2 separate regions of the Homo sapiens genome follow, and region 1 is linked to region 2. Evidence: promoter capture Hi-C in human tissues and cell types (Jung and others, 2019). All regions are on one chromosome and are shown on one strand. The core of a region is centred on a gene start or on the middle of the fragment in contact, and the rest is flanking DNA. Distances in the headings are between cores, read along the strand shown. Region 1 overlaps SLC6A20 (solute carrier family 6 member 20). Region 2 holds the start of CCR9 (C-C motif chemokine receptor 9).

Region 1 (6,641 bases), core at 1,015-3,514, 110 kb after region 2:
CCCCTTACGCTGTAAGCAAGAGTCCACCGGTGAGAGTGTGCGTGTTCTTGGAGAGAAGGTCCATGGCTTTCAGTGGATTCTCTCTGATGGATGTGACCCCACACACACACTATTAAGAACTACTGCACAGTGTGCCTAGGAGGAAATCTGTGGAGAGGACTGGTGGGGAGGGATTCCCTCAATCCAGCAAGACAGCAACGGCCTGTCCTCTTCCTCCCCGTCCCCTTCTCCCGCTTTCCTCAGGGCCACTCGTGCTTCCAGGTTTCTGACTCCAGCCTGAGCCTCTTCTTTTCCCTGCAGACCCCTAAGTTCTCCTAGAAGGACCATTGTCACCCTGTAACACAATAGGGCCATTCCTAAACATTTTAAACCACACATTTCTGATGATAACTACAGCTGACACTCTGTAGAAAAGTGGAAGGGGCTAGAATTGTAGAGAAGCAAGAACTCCAATTCCACACAGAGAGCTGGTGTACATTCAGGACAAGAGGAATTTTCCTTTCCACTGCTCATGCTCATTTCTGTTACCTGGCTCCTACCGTTTCACTCTCAGGAACCCCATCCTCCACTGCCCCCACCTGCTTCCAGGAACCACCTTCACCTTGGCTTCTTCCCAGTTGGGAACAGTGGAGGAGGCAGGAGCTAACCAGGCCAATGCCTTACCCTTTGCCCCTGAGCCAGGCCTTCATGGGACATGCCTGTCCCCAAGGTCCGCAAGCAAGATAGGGCTGGCATGGACTATGGACTGAACTGGGTTTGCCTCTGGGGTGCTTGGGCATAGCCTTGACTCTGTGGGGGCGTGAGGAATGCTTGGGTGAATGACTTTAATAATCCTGATTTGGCATACCCCACTCTGGCTTCCCAATGAGCTCCACCAAGCTTGCCCCATTGCACGTATCTCTGGCAAGAAAGCTGTAACCTGAGCTTAGTTGCAGTCCCTCCTTCTTTCCCTGGTTCAACCTAGAGTTTCATGAACACTGGCCACAACTCTGCCTCTCCCCAGCCTTCTCAGTGGAAACAGGGCAACTCTTCTTACTCTATAGCCTGGTGACTGTTTCCTGTCCTCTGTGCAGGGCTCATGTATGGTTGGGCAGCTTGTGCACTGCACAACAGTACTGCCAACTAAGGGCTTGCCATACACATTGTAAGCATTATAGATTTGTATACTTATTAAGACAAGTTTCCAAAAGTGGAAGTAATGTGTCTTGTCCTAACAAAATCAGAATAATTTGCTCATCCCCCAAAAGCAAAAATAAAGTGCCTCAAGAAAGGGGCATCTTTTTCTAATAGTCAGAAGTATGGGGGCCAGCGATTCATGAAAATCACTTAAATATTCATTCATTCCATCCTTCATAGGTCTGTGGACTTATCCCTTAGTCCCTCTACTTTGAAGCCCTCCTCCATGGTCCCATAATAATGAGAGGAATAGTAGCTGCAGACATTCACTTACATGTGCTTTGGGCCAGACATAGGTCCCAGCACTTTAGAAGTGTTCACTCATGTAATCAAAACAGCCACCCCACGAGGCTGAGCACACTGAGCACCCGAGCAGAGGGGAGCCGAGTAGCTCATAGCTGGTGGGGTTGGACTCAGGGACCTGGCCCCGGAGTCTGTGCTCCTGTCTACTCACTCCCTGGCCAGGCTTTCCAGCCTTGTGTCCAGCCCTTCTCAGCAGGAGCACCTGGGCTGTTATGCACACAAATGCGGGGATCCTTGTCCTCACCTGCTGGTTCAGAGGTGAGTGAGGGAGGTCAGACTGGGAACTGGCCCATTTAACAAGTTCTCCTATACGCTAAACCTTCTTCAACCTGGCTGCACACTGGGGAGATGAAGTTGCGGGGTGCGGGGTGCAGGGTGGGGAGGTGTGAAAAATCCAATGACCAGGCCCTATCCCAAACAGATGAAATCAGAGTCACTGGGGGTGCAGCCTGGGCATCACCCCCGGGTGCCTTAGTCGTGTAGCCAAGCCTGGGAAGCAGGCCCGGTCTGGCATCAGCAGGTAGTCCAGGGAACAGACTCAGGTCAGTCCCACACAGGCTGTAAATGGCCCAAGGGGATGTCAGCCTAGGCAGCTCAACTGGGCTTCAGGTCTACCAGGACCCCTGTCACCTGCCTGGGACTTGGTGCTGGCTGCCACTGGGCACCTCAGTTCCCTCCACGTGCCTCCCTCTCCCTGCACCCGCATCATTCAGGAAGCTAGCCTGGATGTCCCACAGCTGGTCTCCAAGAGGGTGAGAGGCTAGCTACAGGGTTCTGAAGTCCTGGGCCGGGAAGTCACTCACACAGCATCTCTTCACCATATTCAGTTGGTCAGCTTGCATCGGAGGACAGCCCAGACTCACAGGCTGAGGCAAGAGACACCACTTCTGGATGGGAGAAATGTGCACATGGGAAGGGGAAGGACTGTTGGTGGCCAGCTTTGAACACGATATGGGTCAAAGCAAGAAACCAGCTCACACATTCCAATAGGCTAGGGTGGCCTGGGGAGGTATTGCAGGGGTGGGCGTGGAGGTCCTCACCAGGACAGTCCTGAGCACTGTCTGGGTGTGCAGACCTGGGCTCCAGCTGCCTACTGGCACAGTAGCCATGACCCATTAGGTGATACCCCGGGCCTTGGTTCTGTCTCCTGTGAAATATGGGATTGAGCCCAGTGGGGTGGTCAGACTTGCTTCCATTAATGATGCGTTTTTGTCTAATTAAATCTGGGCTTGTAGAACCCAGATATGTGCAAAACTGATCAATGTGGGGCTGGTCCTCAAAGAGCAGGGTTGGGGTCTCCTACCCCACAGTCAGAAGTAACTTTTCCTCCCCTCCCTCCCATCTCAGCACCACTGTTTACCACTTGGCCTCGGGTCATGGTCATGATGCATGCACCATTGAGGCTCCTTTGTTCATAAGTGACACGCCAGCAGCCTCCTATGGGGGCACACCTGGAGCCTTCTCTTTTCTCACTAACAAGCTTTCCCAATCCCCGCCTGCCTTGGAGCCCCGCCAAATGCAAGCGATGCTGCTATCGCCCTTGCTGTAGCAAGTCCTAAGTAAACAGCCTCTGCTTGTTCTCACTTGGGTGGTCTTTGCTGATTTCCTCAAGTCCTGAGATGCGTAAGTCTCAGGTTCTGTGCTCACTAAGTGCTGGTGGCGAATGGCATTTCCTGCAATGTACATTGGGTTTGGAAGCTAGCAGGAGATGAGGTTCAGGCCCCACAGCTGTCCTGCATGTCTGAGCCCGAGAGAACCTGGTGCTGGTGACTTCTTTGAGCTAGAGTCAAGCTATACCTGAAGCAGTTAGACTCCTGGACTTTGCAGGGTGGAGCCAGTAAGACTCTCATCTGCTTAAGCTACTCTGAACTGGGCTCTCTGTCACTTTCTCTGGTTGGTTCTGAGTTGGCCAAAAAATAGGGACTCTCTCAATCATTGACCAAGTCCTAAGCAATCTGGGCCAGTGCTGCAGAGGGTGTGGTTTAAGTGCCTGAGCTGATTGTGCACAGGCCGTGGGTCGGAGTTCCATCATCAGGGCTGGCCTGGCTGTGGTCCATTTGCTATTCAGTCTCTGGGACCCACCACAGAGTTCAGTAGTCCTCAAGGAACACCCGTAGAATTGCAACGAGAGTAGAGCCCCCTCCTCCAACCCCTTCCTGCCTCACCCGTGCCCCCTGACAAACTCTCCAACTCCCAGTCTGCCTTCAGGGGCTCCAGCCACCTGCCCTTCGGGGACCAGCACCCTTCTCTTCCAAGAGTCTCCGCTCAGGGCCACCTCCCTCACCCCTGCCACAGCCTTTGTCCTCAGCCTTCACCTCCCTGGATAACACTTGCTTTGGTCCCACAGGATCCCCTGCCGTGGTCTGTCTGCCCACTGAATGGTAACCACACGGGCTACGATGAGGAGTGTGAGAAGGCGTCCTCCACACAGTACTTCTGGTACAGGAAAACCCTCAATATCTCGCCGTCCCTCCAGGAGAACGGGGGTGTGCAGTGGGAGCCGGCGCTGTGCCTCCTCCTGGCCTGGCTGGTGGTGTACCTGTGCATCCTGCGTGGCACCGAGTCCACTGGCAAGGTGGGACAGTGAGGCACAGAAGCCCGGTGCTCCTGGTGGGTGGGAGGGTGCACCAAGGGGCAGCTGCCTCTGTCTCCAACCCTAGGCAATGCCAAGGGAGTGCCCTCTGCAGTGGAAAGGCAGCAGCTATGTTAGGGCAGAGGGCACAGATGGTGTTGCTGGGACAAGTCACCTACTAGATGACTATAGAGAGGGCCAGAGATGGTTAAAGTTGCAACCCTAAATCTCAAAACAAGGACTTTCTTAGAAAAAAAAAGTTTTTCTGTAGCAGTCAGCCCCAAATCCATACCACCCAGACAACCAGACAGTGAGTTTGCTTTTCTTTAAGATTGTATGTATCCTCGAGACACCCTAGCCACTGGCTCTCCAACTCAGCTGCACATTGGTATTTTCTGGAGAGTTTTCAAAAATCTCATGCCTTAGCCCCGCCCCCCAAAATTCTGCAGTAACCAGTCTGGGGTGTGTCCTGAGCACTGGGTGGGGAGGCAGGGGAGGTTTAAAAGCTCGCCAGGTGATTCTAATTTGCAGCTGAGTTTGAGACCCTTTGTTCTAAGCTGCTTCCAATCACCCTCCAGAGCTGTCGGGCTTGATCTCCATAATCCTTTCTTGGTGCATCCCAAGGCTCACACTTTCACTGGGGCTGACATGTTCCTTCATCTCTAGTCTGCTCCACGTAGAAGGTTTGCTTTCAGTGTTCCCATCACCCGCCACCTGCCTGAAGCTTCAGCAGATGTCTCGGAGCCTAGCACACCCTGTCTCATTCACTGTCACTTCTCACAGTAGACCCACCACGGCTTGAGCACCCACATTGTGTCATTCTGGCAACAGCCTTTCATGGTAGATTTCATGATCCCAGTTACCTGAAGCTTAGAGAGGTAAATTGACCTGCCCAAGGGCACAGCTAGTGAGGGCAAAGCCCAGCCTCACCCCAAGACTTCCCATTGTCTTGGTTTGGTAGCCACATAGCTCTCTCTATGCCTTAATGATGTCATCAATTCCAACTGTCACCTGCTGAGAGTCCTAGGAGCCCACCTGTCCTCACCCTCTGACTACCTGAGTTGTCTCCTCCAGCCACACCCCACCCCCCATGTATTTCTTGAGGCATTAGACCAGAGCTACCCATGGTATTCCAGGGCCCATGGGACAACTCCAGTATCATGCCTGGTAGGGCATTTTATTTTGGTTTCTAAGAGCCCCTGATGACCAGCCTCTTAGCCCCCAAAGTCCCCTGTGCCATGGCTGAGGAAAGGGACGAGTGAGCACAGGTGCTCTTTCCCCGAGAGAGCTTAGAACCTGCAGCAGCCCACTCAGTCCCATCGTAGAGCCTGGCCATACTGTCATGCTCATAAAAAATGTTTTTGTAATTTATGTTTGCCAGATTATTATGATCATGATCCAAGAGATCAGAGGGCAACATCTGCAGAGGTAGAGATTAGAGACCATTCCTTTTCCCAATCACTTTGAAATGTGTTGCATAAGACCATGTCATGCCATAAAAACTTATTTATTCTTATCATCTATTTCCTCTGCTTCAGCTACACCCTTCTCCCTGGGAAAAGTACCCCAACAGCTCTATGTAAATAGAGCTAATCTTGTCACAGACCATGTGCCATTTCCTGGCATCCTCTGTTGGAATCGACTTTGTTTCCTGCCAGAATCTCTGCAGAGTGGTCAGAATTGGTTTCTTCCAATAGATTAGGCTGGATCACGTGTCCAGCAATTCTGCCCACTTAGGGACTCCATGAGCCTCCAGGAAACTTGCTCACCTTGGGGGAAGGAGGGAAATTCTCGGGGCTGGCCCTAAGGGCCTGCTTAGTGCCCATTGTGATGGATGTTGGTCACGAGTGAGTGCTCTGTCTTTTCATCTCTCTTACCTGGTTTCTTATAATCTTGGGTGGATTTATTACTCTTCTCAAGTTACAACAACCTCAGCTAAGAAGCAGTGATAAAAGACACACCCCACATTCCACCTGCCGTCCCCTGGGTGACAGCGTACAGAGTGCCATTCTGGTGGCCTTGGAAATGGATGAGAAGATGATGCCACACCTCAATAGGAAGGGAGGGCCAAGTGTAATTCAAGCCCACCTGAACATAGGCCACCAGCCATATTTCTCACAGAGAGACTCAAACTTTAAGGGAACTCTTACACAAAAGACAATCTTGCAAAATATTTATTTCCTTTACAAATGAGGCTCTGGTACACATATGAGTTGATTTACAGAAAAAAATCCATTCCTGGATAGGCACACGTGCACTTGAAGGTCTGTATTCTATGGCTTTGTAACAGTTAGAATCACCCAGAGCATGACAGGTGACTACTAAAGCTACCATGAACACCAAAGATATTAACAAAACATCATTGAACTTACGATGCATGTCGGTGGAGAAAGAAGATCTGGTTGACAAAAATGTCCATTCAGGTGTAATGTTAAAGCCTAAGGAAGTAAACCCTTTCTGGAGGGTTGCCATAAAAATCAGATCTGAATTTCCTATTGTGTTTATTATGGGGACATTGTCCTCTACGCTACACCTCGCTGCTTTCCTGTATGAGCACTCGTGACCAATCTGCTCTCAGGCCCCAGTCCTG
Region 2 (5,849 bases), core at 2,201-4,700:
CAAAATTTACAAAGCACAACATCTCTGACTCTGCAGCGCATCTGCTTGGAATTTGCCCTACTGGTATTCTCACAAAAGAACACAAGGGTCCAGGTATAGGGATATATGTTGGAGCAGAACAAAAATTGGAAAACAACTTAAATATTCAGCAATTGGTAATATTATGACACATCAATCCAATAAACCATGTGTAGCCAATAAACAAGGATGGTCCTCATGCTGATAGAAAAGAGGTCCTCAAGACTATAAGATTAAAATGCAACATGTAGGAAGACTTATGTTGTGTGATCTTTAAAAAAAAAAAAATAGAAAAAGACATACACTGCACTGCTCACCAGCACCGAAACATTTTCTGGAAGGAGACTGAACCACTGTGACCAGTGGAAAATGAACTTTCATGTTTTCATTTAGATTTTGCAAACTATTTAAATATCTTACCAAGTGTGTAAAATTTTATTTTAAGAGCTGTCATAAAAATAACTTGTCAGATTTAAAAAAAAAAGAAGAAGAAGCCCAATGCTCTAACGTTCAGCACACCTGTTTACAAAACTCATCTAGAGGAGGAACTTGTAGCCTGCTCCAGCTACCGCAGAAAGAGCAAGTCTAGTAATTACATTCACCGAGGCTACTTTATGCAACTAAGTTGTACACTAGCTTTCTATAAAGGTTTCTCTTTATTTTTTTTTTTAAAGGTAATATATAAACACAAGCCAGGCAAGATGGCTCATGCCTGTAATTCCAACACTTTGGGAGGCTGAGGTGGGAGCATCACTTGAGGCCAGGAATTTGAGATCAGCCTGGGCAACAGAGCAAGACCCCATCTCTACAAAAAATTTAAAAATATGCCAGGCATGGTTGCCTACCCTGTAGTCCCAGCTACTCAGCTGGCTGACGCAGGACAATCGCTTGAACCCAGGAGTTCAAGGCTGAAGTGAGCTAACATTGCACTGCTGCACTGCAGCCTGAGTGACAGAGCAAGACCCTGTCTCTAAAATAAATAAACAAATAGTATATATCATGTAATATATTATGGTGTATAATAGAATGTAATATATTACAGTTTATAAAATATGCATCTGCTTCTGGCTCATAGAAAATTTGGAGAGAGCCAAAGAGTAAAAACAGGACATACCCCTCCCTAGAGCCCACATCTAGAACCTCCACAGACAGCCTTGCCATCTATTTCTCTTTCATTTTTGTCAGAATACTTCTCAAATATTTTATTCTCCCAGCTACTAAGTCTCAGTGCTTGCTTTCATTTTTGTCTTGCCAGTGAGAAAGCGGGAAAAATATAGGGGGGAAAATCCCACATATGACCAAACATACTGAGAGTGAGGACCATCTCAGCGGTCTGTCGGGAGTGGATGGGCAGTTGACTCAGCACTGTGGCAAATCTCTCCCTTGCTGCTCAGTGAGGCCTTGTTGCAGGTGCCATGGGCCATCCATCGAACCCACTTATTCAATGTGCCTTGAGTACCTGATACATTTATTTGGCTTAAACAATGTGTAAGACATGATCCATGTCCTCAAGAAGCTTGCATTCAAATACACTGAGTAAGTCATGGCTGCAAATAACAACAAAGGGAAAGTGCTATGAGTTGTGGTAGGAATTGGAAGAAGGAGGTCATGTCTTTAGCTCTGGGGAGAATCCAGGAGGGCTTCATTGAAGAGGTGACATTTTTGCGGGTCCTTGAAGGCCGAAGAGCATGGAGACATGCAACGAGGGGAGGGAACATTGCTCCAGGGTGGGAAAACATATGCACTAAGGCATGAAAGTCAGAAAGCATGGGGTATGTGCAGGGACCTGGGAGATAAAGGAAGGGAGAGAGCTGCTAATTCTCCAAAAGAGAAAAGTGCCTATTAGAAAAGTTAGCTTGGAACCTATTATTATCCAATCACTATTTTTGTATTCTCTAACATTCTTACGTAGCCAACATGAAAATCAGCATGGGGTTATTGTGCACACAGCATCTCCCCACACTTATAGCCTCTGATGCTTACAGCACTAACATCAAATCAGATACTAACATGAGTCAGGAATGCAGGTCCTTACTTTGAACTTTGTACAATTTGCTACACGGAGCTTGAATCATCTCTTACATTTTTTCATAGCTCTGCTTTTTGTTCCCTACACGAGGCAGGGTCTCTGAGCCATCTATCAGATCCATCCACTCACCATGCCTGGATCAGATGCCTGCCAACCGCCCAGCAGGGGCTGCACAGGGCCCAGGGGCTCCCAACACAAGCCTGTGAGTGAGGCCTACACAAAGAGGCTTCAGAACAGATAAGCAGATATTGGAAGAAAAGGACTCCGAAATTCCAGATGCTGAAATAGTAAATTAGCTTTTGCTCGTTCAGGAAAGGGAGTAAGGAGATGGGATCCCACAGACTGGCTGCTGCACAGCCCTTCCGGTTCAGCACACAGTGACCACTCTCTGGATGGACTTGCCAGCCGTCTATGGAGTAACAGCTAATTCAGAACTAAAGAGGGTAGGTGTGTTTGAAAAGGCAAACCAGCATCCACTGATGAGTCATTTAAAATAACTTTTTGCTTTACTCTGATCATAAAGGAGTATTTTTACAATGCACAAAAAATCCCCAAAATGCCAACATACATAATATAGAAAATAAAAACTCCTGAAGCACCCTTTCCTAGTTTAGCCATTGTTAAGTTTCTGAGATACTTCCTTTCTGACTTTTTCTCTGTAACACAACCTCACACACACACACACACACACACAGACACACACGCACTTAATAGAAAGGAAATCAGACTACACATATAATCTTCTATCTTGCTTTCTAATTGCCCATCTTTCATGGATCACCTTCCATGCCAATTCAACATAGAACCGTATCATAGAATTGGATGGCTGCTGTGTATTCCATTGTCTAGATACATCACAATTCATTTAACCATTCGCCTCCTGATGCATAGTTTCCTTGTTTCCAGTTTTTCACTGCTACAAAGAATCCTTTCCATGGGGCAGTGTCTCAGACTCAAGGACCTCATGGGTGTGTCCTTTACCCCTGGCCACCATCTTGTCCCCCAGCACCTGCTTCTCCTTCCTTTAAGGTATAAATCACAGACTGCCTTAAGCCTAAGCTTCATGTATGTGAAGGGGGAGGGAGTTTTATTACTCGCCCTACAAGAAACCTGGGTTGGGCATCACCAATTCCCATTTACCTTCCTGGAAGTTTCTAGAAAAGTGCCTGGTGCCCATGACCTCTGAACAAATGAGTGCAAGCCCAGGTTTTAGAAGCCATCATAGCAGCACACAACTGAGGGCCAAGATGACACTGGGTTGGGGGCAACAAGAAGAAGAGCAATACTCACTGTGGAGGGCGATGCAACTCTCCCTGGGACAGCAGGCACCACCAGCTCTCAGTGTCTGGGGAAAGAGCTGGGTTGCTCTCTGCCTGGGATGAGGGGCAGGCTTTGTGGGTTCTGAGCAGGCAGCTACCCGATAACAACACGAGAAAGGAAGCCAGGCCACCCCTGCCTGTGTTGTCACTGGTGGGGTAGCCCAAGAGGGTGGGGAGTCACCTGTGTAGCTTCCAGCAATCAGCGGAGTCAATCATTTGCAACCAGAAACAAAAAGCTGAAAACTGCTGGGATAAGGGGAAACTGTCTCATCTGAAGACGCACATACAGACTGATGATCTAAGAGCAAATTCTCTTCCTAGACAGCACAGCTGCTTACAGGGAATGGGGAAATTGGAGGATCCCATCGAGAGAAGTCAGCCTTGTCAGGCTTGCCAGAGGTGCACACTGATGAGATTTCTTTAGGTGGTGTCACCTGAGCAGGCCTGTATCAGATTACCACCCAGTGGCAGATGTAGCACTATCCATCGCAACATACCTTTTCTGGCCTTGACAGACGTACCAGAACCCGGAGGGCTGTGCTATCCAACACAGTAGCTACTAGGCAGATGTGCCTATTTAAATTCAAATTAATTAAAATGCTAACTAGGGCCAGTGCAGTGGCTCACCTCTGTAGTCCCAGCACTCTGAGAGACTGAGGCGGGCAGATCACTAGGCAGAGCCTAGGAGTTCAAGAACAGCCTGGACAACATGGTGAAACCTCATCTCTACAAAACACACAAAAACAATTAGGCAGGCATGGTGGCCCATGCCTGTAGTCCCAGATACTCAGGGAAGCTGAGGTGGAAGGATCAGGAGGCAGAGGTTGTAGTGAGCCAAGATTGCACCACTGCACTCCACCCTGGGCAACAGACTGAGACCCTGTATCAAAAAAGAAAAATGTTTTAAGTGTTAACTAGTTTCTCAGTCATGCCAGGTACATTTCAAGTGCTCAATAGCCACATGCAGCTAGTGGCTATCCCAATGGACAATGCAGATACAGAACCTGTCCATCGTCGCCAACAGTGCTATTGAAAGGCACTGCTTTAGAAAGTCTGCCTGTGAGATGTAGCTAGGAACACATGGAGTGCTGGAAAGCCACAGACACCTTCAAATTGGGGCAAATCTAGTAAGGTTTTGCACATCAGATACATTAACAAAGATAATACAATAAATTGTATTAATTACAGGTGTTTTGGTAAAACTTTGAAAAAAGCTAAATATACAAAATATTGCATTTTTAATGAAGATCACAGACGAAGTCTTCCCATCCACTGCTACAGTGGGGACTTCAATCCTGATGTGATTAATGATTTCCTGTCATTGTTATGACAAAGATCCCTTTTATATATTTGTTCTGGGGGAAAATCATGACTACACTCTTGTGGATGTTAATTTCCACCTCTTGGTGTATTGATTGTCCCGAGGACTCAATGCCGCTCTGTCATGGCGTGGTACTCCCAGGCGCATGTCCCCTTCATCACCCTCAGTTCCCGTAGAGCAAAGGGATGCAGAAGGTGCACTTGGGTTTATTGTCTAAATGGAAAAAGGCCAACAAATAGGTCATCTGAAAGGTAGAGGGCATGCACAGTAAGAACGAAAGAGGTGTCTGATTCATCAGCCTTAAGGAACGGCGGTGCGAGGGAGCCGTGAAATTCCCTTCCCTCGGCGGGCGCTCATTGCAAATAAATGGTGTCTGAAACTATACATAGCTGAGAACCAGCCAGATGCTCTGGCATCTCACTCCTCCCTCTCACTTGGCAAATAAAGACACAAAAGGAACTGGTGCTAGAGGGAAGAAGATGTTCCCTTACTTGACTTTCTTGGCTGAATTTGTTTCTCCCCCGTGTTTGATTGCGTCCTTGGAAAGCTTGCAGCGAGGTGAGACACGCACTATTGCAATTGCCATGGGTGAGGAAAAGCCTGTGCTTCTCCCTTCTCTTGACTCAGGCTGTTTCCTCATCAGGTAAGAGCATACAAGGTAGACACTGCTTGCCCCTAGACGTTGGAGTGAGTCTCGGGGGAGGAAGGAAGGTGAGGCTGGCCGTCAGGGAAGAGGAGAAGGGGTAAATGCACCGGTGTGGGAAGATTCCCTCCTCTGCACGGGTCCCCGTGGTCCAGGTGAGGTGGGGAAGCTTAGGTAGGTTCTTCCATCCAGGTCTGGAAGAGCTGCTCTAGAGCACTCACATGCCCTCTCCTGGGATGCAGAGAGGATCATGAGGCTGGGGAGAAGGGAAGACGCAAGGAAGTCATAGAGAGAACTTCCGCTTTCTCAAAGGAGCTTGTGCAAATGTGACTCCCTTTGCTGCAATCTAGTTTAGGTCCATTCCTGAAAAAAGCCCTATCCTCTTGTTTTCTTTGCTGTGTTTCTTTCTTTGCAACTAGAATTCAGAGCTGGGTGACTATAAAAGGTTGCTGGTCCCCTTTTCTAAGGGCTATTTCTCTCTTGCATTCTCACCCTGCCAAAGGTGAGTTCTGGAGGACA

Evidence for each region. The method cuts DNA at HindIII sites, captures the fragments that hold promoters and counts their contacts. A contact is called where the count stands out against the background at its distance.
Region 1: a fragment that was not itself captured here is called in contact with the fragment with the promoter of CCR9 in region 2 in 2 of the 25 tissues and cell types used here (mesenchymal stem cells and spleen).

What each region holds. Positions count from the first base shown.
Region 1 is chr3:45,773,174-45,779,814 of GRCh38, reverse strand. It overlaps SLC6A20 (solute carrier family 6 member 20), which reads left to right. Exons shown (of 11, transcript NM_020208.4): 4 at 3,827-4,054. Among named protein-coding and RNA genes, the nearest start is that of SLC6A20, 20 kb to the left of the region's middle. The HindIII fragment of the contact is 5,169 bases long and covers 1-4,848 here.
Region 2 is chr3:45,884,144-45,889,992 of GRCh38, reverse strand. CCR9 (C-C motif chemokine receptor 9) reads right to left here and starts at 3,450. Exons shown (of 3, transcript NM_031200.3): 1 at 3,338-3,450. It also overlaps a transcript of LZTFL1 not described here. RefSeq lists a promoter at 3,435-4,434. The HindIII fragment of the contact is 3,685 bases long and covers 2,321-5,849 here.